Linked DNA regions of Homo sapiens: region 1 is linked to region 2. Evidence: promoter capture Hi-C in 16 types of primary human blood cells and fetal thymus (Javierre and others, 2016). All regions are on one chromosome and are shown on one strand. Each heading gives the region's core, a stretch centred on a gene start or on the middle of the fragment in contact. The rest is flanking DNA. Distances are from core to core; before and after follow the strand shown. Region 1 has its middle 59 kb from the start of QTRT2. Region 2 holds the start of USF3 (upstream transcription factor family member 3).

Region 1 (4,148 bases), core at 657-3,156, 420 kb after region 2:
AGTCCCTGTCCAGGACTGGTTCTCAGCTGAAGAGAACCATCCCTCTTAGGTTGTGCCTCCTCCCTGGAGACAGATACTTCTTATAACTCAGTAATATGGGCATATAAAAGCCTGTTTTGTATGCCTAAAGCCAGGACAAGTTTGAAGGGCTATCCCAGATCCAGAGACCCCTATGGGACTGCCAAAGTCCTTGTTACAACTGACTCAGAGTCCCACTCCTCTTCTGCCCAGTCTTCCTTTATCCTACGTGAGTGTTGATCCTCAAGTTCCGATAAACTTTCTGCATGTGAATCTCCAACTCAGAGTTTGTGTTTGTTAGGGACCCATGTCATCATGGACCTCCTGTTGAAGTGAGGTCATATGGGAGCCAGGTAGTACATGTAACATTGGCTTAAGTGTGACTCATGGTGGGTCGTTTTCTTAGTTCCCAAATGTGTAAATTCCAATTTGTAATTGGGATGGACATATGTAGCAGTTGGCTGAACATCGTTGTGTGCTTGACCCTGGAGAACTAGTGTAACGGGGAAGGCCAAGTGGGAGCTTCTGAAACTTCCCCTCAAGGCAAGATAATAAATTTTAAAAATGACGGTAGATGGCATGACAGAAATTAGGGTGACCATTGAAGATCTAGAGAATTCAGGGCTGATGGTCTCCACTAATGCATCAGTCTGTCCCCTCCAGACCCTGGAGGATGACAGTAGACTGCCACACAGCCAACTAAGTGGTAGCCCCTAATTGCAGCTGTGGTGCCAGATGTGATGTCTTTAACATGGCCTCAAGTATATACTATGAGGCCATCAATCTGGTGTGTTTATGTGTTCATTTCCATCCCTATCAGTAAGGAAGATCAGAAATTCATTCACTTGGGAAGAACAAAAGTTTACATTTACTGCCTTGCCTCATGACTATACAGATTCTCCCATCTGTGGATATAATACTGTCCAAAGGAAGCTGGACCACATGGACATTTTGCACAACTTTTCATTAGTTTGCTACATCTGTAACATCATATTAATCAGACCAAGTGAACAACTGGCAAGGGCTTTGGAAGCCTTGGCTAGACACATATACTCCAAAGGGTGGGAGATTTTAAAAAATACTATAAAGATTCAGAGACTTTCCACATTAGTAAAATTTTTAGAGGTCCAGTAGGCTGGGGAATGCTGAGACATGCACTTCAAAGTAAAGGACAAATTATTGTAACTTGCATTTCCCATAACTAAGAAGGAAACCCAGCACCAATAAGCGTCTTCTGGTTCTGAAAGCAGCACATTTCACACTCAGAGACACTACTCTAGCACATACGCCAGCTGAAACATGAGTCTACCAGATTTGGAGAGAGCCCAGAGCAGGAAAGGGCTCTGCAGCAGGACCAGGCAGTAGTGCAAGCTGCTCTGTCATATGATGATTTTGGTCACATGATGTGGTAGAGCCTACAGTATAGGAGGTATCATTGATAGAAAAAGGCTGTGTACATTTTATGGCAGGCCTCAATAGGCAAACACAAATAGACCCCTAGGATTCAGAAGCAAGACAAGCAATTTGCAGCAGAGAACTATACGTTTAGATAAATATTCCTGGTGCCCTACTGGTTCCTAGTAGGAACACAGCACCCAACTATGGGATGCCAAGGGTCCACACAGCAAGGACTGCCCATTGCGAATTCTGACAGACCCCCAAATCATGAAGGCAGGCAGGCCTACCAACAATTGTAAGGAAGGAAATGATACGTTTGGGATCAGGCATTAGCAGAGCCAGAGAGCACAAATAAGTTGCACGCATATGTGGCCCAGACTACTAGGTCATCCATCACATTTGCACTGATGCCTCACCCTTAGCTCACACTTACGGCAGCATAAAGTGAGGGCAAAAGCTGAGTTTGATTTATGTACGGGTAAGATTGGAATGTAGTAGCAAGCTAAAAATAGACTATTGCTATATAACAGGACCACATCCTTAGCGTGTCCCAGAAAATTAGGGATGAGAGAAATTCTTCCTAATGGATAAAGCATCAGATGGTGCCTTTGTCGAGAGAAATACTCTGAGATAAGATATGTATCACTTATAGGCAGTAGTGAATTATTTGGACAGTTGACTCTATACAACCTGGGAAGTAGAATGTCTTAGCCAGTTGATGTCAGCCAGCTCCTATCAGTGCTGGCACAATAGGCACATTAATGGACCATGGGTAAGGAATGGAGACACCATCCTAACAAGACTAATTGACTTTATTTTTATTTTTTTTGAGACGGAGTTTCACTCTTGTCACCCAGGCTGGAGTGCAATGGCACCATCTCGGCTCACTGCAACCTCTGCCTCCCAGGTTCAAGTGATTCTCCTCTGTCAGCCTCCCAAGTAGCTGGGATTACAGGCACCTGCCACCAAGCCCTGCTAATTTTTGTATTTTTAGTAGACATGGGGTTTCACCATGTTGGCCAGGCTGGTCTCTAACTCCTGACCTCAGGTGATCTGCTGGCCTCGGCCTCCAAAAGTGCTGGGATTACAGGTGTGAGCCGCAGTGACTGGCCTAATTGACTTTCTTAATCAGGAGAAGATAGCTCTTCTCTTACATGATGGCGACAGAAAAGAATACTCCCTTGCCTAATTTTGATGATAAATGGATAAGTACAACAACCATGACTGAGAAACAGTGGTGGTGATGGAAGCTATTTATAGGCCCAACAACACGTGCTCTCACTTGCTAAGGCTGATCTAGTTACTGCCACTGCTGAAGATCCAGCCTGACAGCAACAGATACCATCACTGAGTCTCCAGTATGGCTCCATCCCTCAAGAAGACCAACCAGCTTCTTAATGGCAAATTATTCTTCTTAATGACAAAATGGGTCCTTTCCACCATGTGATTCCACCCTGTGATTTTGATACGAATGGACACTTATCCTATTCATACAACTTCAGCTAGACAGTGCCTATGTAGCATTTGATCCACTGAAACAGGATCCTGCCAAACATTGCATTGGACTAAAGTAACTGCTTATGTTAATGGAAGTTTAACCTTAATTACTTCCTTATAGGCCTTAACTCCAAATACAGTCACATTGGGGGTTATAGATTCAACATATGAATTTTGGAAGGCTCTTCTTTTCCCAGAATTGTCTTTGCTGAAAATCAATTGACCATAAATATAACGATTTATTTCTGGACTGTCAATTCTGTTCCATTGGTCTATATGTCTTCTTACTGCAAATACCATACTGTTGATAACTGCAGCTTTATAGTTAGTTTTGAAATCAAGGATTAAACATTCTCCAACTCCTTTCTTCCCACGCATGGAAAATCACTGATCTCTTTTCTGTCTCTACAGATTTACCTATTCTAGGTACTTTTCTTTTTAAACAGTGTCTTTTGGCTATTCTAGGTCTTTTGTACATCTATGTAAATTTTACAATCTGCTTGTCAGTTCGTGATGAAAAAGGCTGGTGGAATTTTGAGAGGGATTGTGTTGTCTATATATCAATTTGTAGAAAGTTGCCATCTTAACATATTGAGTTTTCAAATCTCAGAACATAGAATGTTAGAGGTCCCTGTTCTTTTTTAATTTTAAATTTCTTTTCATAATTTAAACATTTTTTCTATTGAGGTAAAATTCATATAGATAAAATTAACTATTTTAAAGTGAACAATTAAGTGGCATTTATTACATTCACAATATCGTACAACAACTACCTCTATCTAGTTCCAAAATATTTTCATCACCACAAAAGAAAACTGTGTACCCATCAAACAGTTACTCCTCTTTCCTTTTTCTCCCAACCTCGGACACCACAGTCTTCTTTCTGTCTCTATGGATTTACCTGTTACTCTGAATATTTCATATAAATGAAGTCATACAACATGTGACCTTTGTGTCTGACTTCTTTCGTTAGCACAGTGAGTGTCTTCAAGGTTCATTCACATTGTAGCATGTATCAACTTCATTCCTTTTGATGACCAAATGATATCCTATTATATGTATATACCACAGTTTGTTTATTCATTGATGAATATTTGAATTCTTTCTACCTTTTGGCTATTGTGAATAGTGCTTCTATGAATATTTGTGTATAAGTACTCATTTGAATACTTTTTTTAATTATTTGTGGTATATAACTAGAAATTGAATTGCTGGGTCATATAGTAATGCTATGT
Region 2 (4,204 bases), core at 676-3,175:
TCACACACAAACATCTCATAATGTTTTAAAAAGTTTACAAATTTGAGGCCGGGCGCAGCGGCTCATGCCTGTAATCCCAGCACTTTCGGAAACAGAGGCAGGCGGATCACCTGAGGTCAGGAGTGCAAGACCAGCCTGGCCAACATGGAGAAACCCTGTCTCTACTTAAAGAAATAAAAATTAGCTGGGCTGGTGGCATGCACCTGTAATCCCAGCTACTCAGGAGGCTGATGCAGGAGAATTGCTTGAACCCAGGAGGCGGAGGTTGCAGTGAACTGAGATAACACCACTGCATTCCAGCCTGGGCGACAGAGTGAGACTCTGTCTCAAAAAAAATAAAAGAAAGTTTACGAACTTGTCTTCTTGTCTTGGGCCGCATTAAAAGCCGTCCTTGGACGGGGGTTGGAAAAGCTTGGCTTAGGCTAAAGCAAAACTGCTTTAGGATTAAGCATTCATTCTTGCATGGATACATTACACTACTTCTGCTTTCAGAAGTGCAATTACAATGTATTTTACTTCTTTTGTAACAAATACTTTGAGTACTTAAAGAGAAACAACACATGTATCCCAAACAGCAACTCTGTACTATGTTAAACAAGAGTTCTATGGGAGAGAAAAAAGTCATCAAGGTGAATGGAGAGTAGGACAGCCTGTTGATCCTTCAAAAGGCAGGTTTGTCTGTTTGGTTTTCTTTACAAAAGAGCAAACCTGGGAATATGTTTCAGGATCCATGTAACTCACCGTAAGATTTATTCAAGAAATCTGTACGTTGTTTATAGGTAAGGAAATGTCTTCTTTGCCTACACAGTTGGCCACGACTGTCTTGATCTGTGTGGTGTTAGGTTACTGTATCTACTTGATGGTAAAAATGTTACAAGAACGGAAGTTGAAATTCTGCACTTTGGTTTATGCAGTCTCATATTTCCAGATAAAGTTAATAAACGCAAAGGACCATATCCCAATGTAACGAGGAGGGTTGGGAGGACAAGCTTCAAGAACGAGTGGGGTGAATTCAACTATCAAAATTGTAAACATGAACAAGAGTCCAGGAATCTTATATTTCATCCGGATACATGAAAGTAGATTTCAAGAGTTGGTCATTCACTTGCACTGCTTCTACTCAGAAAGCAAAAGAACGGCTTCTAAAAAGAAAACACAAGCCTAACACTTCGACAGAGGGGTGAGAGGGAAAAAGCAAGCCACATGAGTCTGACGAACGGGTACGAAAGAAATTCAGAGGGCAAGGAAAGAAGGGGAATGAAGAAGACAGGAAAAGGTGAAGGAGGCGGGCAAAGGCCATCTGGTGTGAACCTGGCTGCCCAGCTCTTTATGCACCCAGGGCAGCGTGGGGCCCCTCTCGCCCCGCGCGCATCTAGGAGCTGGGGCGCAGTGCGAGCCCCCCACGGGCCTGGCAGCCGGGGACGCAGGGCGGGCGGGAGATGAGGGGTGCGCTCGCCGCGGGCGCTGACGCCCCACCAGGTGCCGCACGCAAGGGTCCCCAGGAAGGAGGCGCACTTAGCGCAGCCCTGGCCTCCCGGAGCAGGAAGGGGGTGGGTGGAGCTGAGCCCGGGGCCGCCCTCCGGAGCCGCCCCCGCAGCCCTGGCCCCCGCCCCCCGCCCCGGCTGTCAGCGGCCCCCTCCCGCAGTCACTTACCCGCCGGCTGCGCGGTCTCGGCCGCGGTGGCGGCGGCGACGGCGGCGACCCCCGCCTGGGTCATGATCCCAGGAGGGGAAGGCAGGAGTGTCTGACCGTCTGGGCGAATCTCTCCGTCCGCGGCCACCGCCTGCTCCTCCGGGGCTGGGGGAGCGCGGGCCCAGGCCCTCCTCTCCCCCCGCCCCCGCCGCCTCTTTTTGCGGCCACCGCAGCCGCTGCGAGCCCGAGCCCTCAAGGCCGGAGACCCGGCGGCAGCGCGGCCTCAACTTTCCCAGCCCCCCTCCCCCCGCCCCTCCCCGCCCCTCCCGCGGCCGCAGCTCAGCAAGCGAACAGCCTACCCTGGGCGCGCCGCGTTCCCGCCTCTTTCACTCAACCCGCCAATCAGGCTGCGGGAACGCTGCCGTGGTAGCCAATAAGAAGACAGAATGCCGTTGCACTACGCTAGAGGGCGGGAGGAGGCGGAGAGGAAACCAAGGAGTGAACGGGGATCGGGCGGCCCAATGAGGAGGGCCGGGGGGCGGAGGTGTGCAAGTTGGGTTGAAGAAACAGGAAATATTCTTAAAGGTAGAGTGACGGACAGGAAGGAAAGCCAGTAGGTGAATGGGAAAGAGGTGGGCCTGGTTCCTTAAAGGGGACGCCTTGAGAACCTAGAAAAGAAGGTGTTTTAAGAAACTTCTTTGTATCTTCTTCTGTGGTCTCTTTTCTTCGTCTTTCGGTAGGAGTTTGGAAGTGGAAAAATTGAAAAGGAAGAGGGCACGGAAGTCTTTCGGAATAGTTAGCCCCTCTTAACGTGGAGGGCAGGAAGGTGAGAAGATACGTCTTAGTAAATGTGGAGAAGAAAGAATCAGACGTTTCCGACTTCTCGATAACTGGAAGATTGTTGCTGACTTGACGCTGCTCGCATTCGTAGGCTGTGGTCTCTTGTCATCCTTTATTTGCAACAACACACAGATTTCTGTGAATTGGAGATGGCCATGTTCAGAAATGCCCTGGGGGCCTCCCAGCTGGGACAAGGGAGTTTGGCATTGGGGGATGGGGTTTGAGATCTCAAGCCTGGGTTACTAAATACCTGGATCTAGGAGAGGTAGGGCCAGGGGTCACGAAATGGAGACCTGAGTGCCCCTTAACTCCAGGATCTGTGTGGAGCCCTTGGAACCGTGATCACAACTCCCTCTTCCTAGTTTCGCTTCATATTTTATAACCTCCTGCTGAAACAGGTGTCCTCCACCTAGTTGCGGTTATAGATTTCCAAGCCCTTCCACAACCAGATTTGGAAATATCCCAGATCTTAGATGTCCGTGGGCTAACTTCCAGAAGGTGCACACAGGGCATGGCATAATGGGAATTACTTGAGCCTGTATACAGAAGCAGCAGACATCGCATTGAGCAAAAGGGTAAAGGCTAACAGTAACGGAGTCTTATGTTTGTACAGCAGATTGAAAAGCTATGATGAAACGGAAGGCCTGTAATGTTGCTTATAAACTGTGGTACTAATAAACAGGCTAGAAATTTTCTTTAACTCATCCATCTAGGCACACGAAGTTCTAATTAGCCTTTGAACAGACTTGGCACATCCAAATCAAAACTGCAGATAAGAAAGATTCTACGAGTCAGAGCCATAATAGCAATGCTAATAACATCACCATAAAATTGTATAGTATTGGTATGCTCAGCCATAGGAAACAATTTCCAGTGTGTTCAGAATACAAGGTATTTCTCGTTAACAAATATCATATCCAGGGTGTGCATGATTTCCTAAACAACTGCAATGCATCAATTCTAAAGTAAAAACAAATAGTTTTGATGATTCATGAAACAGAATTTAACCATTCCTTTAGATCACCTTTAAAAAATACACATTAATATATTTCTGGCACGATATAGACGTAGAAAAGAAGAACAATTTCCGTTTGATAAAGATCAGAATATTAGCTTTTTAAATTAATCCTTATTACCTAAGTGTAGCCTAAATCCCAAACAGGGATTTTTCTCTTTTCTTTTCTTTTTCTTTTCCTTTTCTTCCCTTTCCCTTTCCTTTCCTTTCCTTTGTTTTCCTTTCCTTTCCTTTGTTTTCTTTCTTTTCTTTTTTCCTGCGACAGGGTCTCCCTCTGTTGCCAAGGCTGAAGGTCAGTGGCACTGTAACAGCTCACTGCAGCCTCCACCTCCCAAACTCAAGCGATCCTCCCACCTCAGCCTCCCAAGTAGCTGGAACCACATGCCCGGCAATTATTTTTTTCTTTTGGATAGAGATGGGGGTCACATTATGTTGCCCAGGCTGATCTTCAACTCCTGGGCTGAAGCCCAGAGATCTTTTTTTTTTTTGGCTTTACCCATTCAACATCAGTTTCAGATAATCACACCAGTCCTATTTTCAAACTAGCTGGCAGTGCTTACAGTGACCTATATTGGTGGTAAAATATACTGGCCAAGTGAAACTGGTCTATAGGGCTGTTAGTTCATTTTTTTCAAGTGGACAGAGTGAATCTGATTTTCACCCACATTCTTGAGACTTTTCAATGGTGCTGAAAGACTATTTGCATGATATATAAGT

The links. The method cuts DNA at HindIII sites, captures the fragments that hold promoters and counts their contacts. A CHiCAGO score of 5 or more calls a contact.
Region 1: a contact is called between a fragment that was not itself captured here and the fragment with the promoter of USF3 in region 2, in 1 of 17 cell types (neutrophils). The highest score is 6.7, in neutrophils.

What each region holds. Positions count from the first base shown.
Region 1 is chr3:114,113,492-114,117,639 of GRCh38, forward strand. No RefSeq gene overlaps it. Among named protein-coding and RNA genes, the nearest start is that of QTRT2, 59 kb to the left of the region's middle. The HindIII fragment of the contact is 8,503 bases long and covers 1-4,148 here.
Region 2 is chr3:113,694,717-113,698,920 of GRCh38, forward strand. USF3 (upstream transcription factor family member 3) reads right to left here and starts at 1,926. Exons shown (of 7, transcript NM_001009899.4): 1 at 1,654-1,926. RefSeq lists silencers at 1,257-1,646, 1,667-2,136. The HindIII fragment of the contact is 8,785 bases long and covers 988-4,204 here.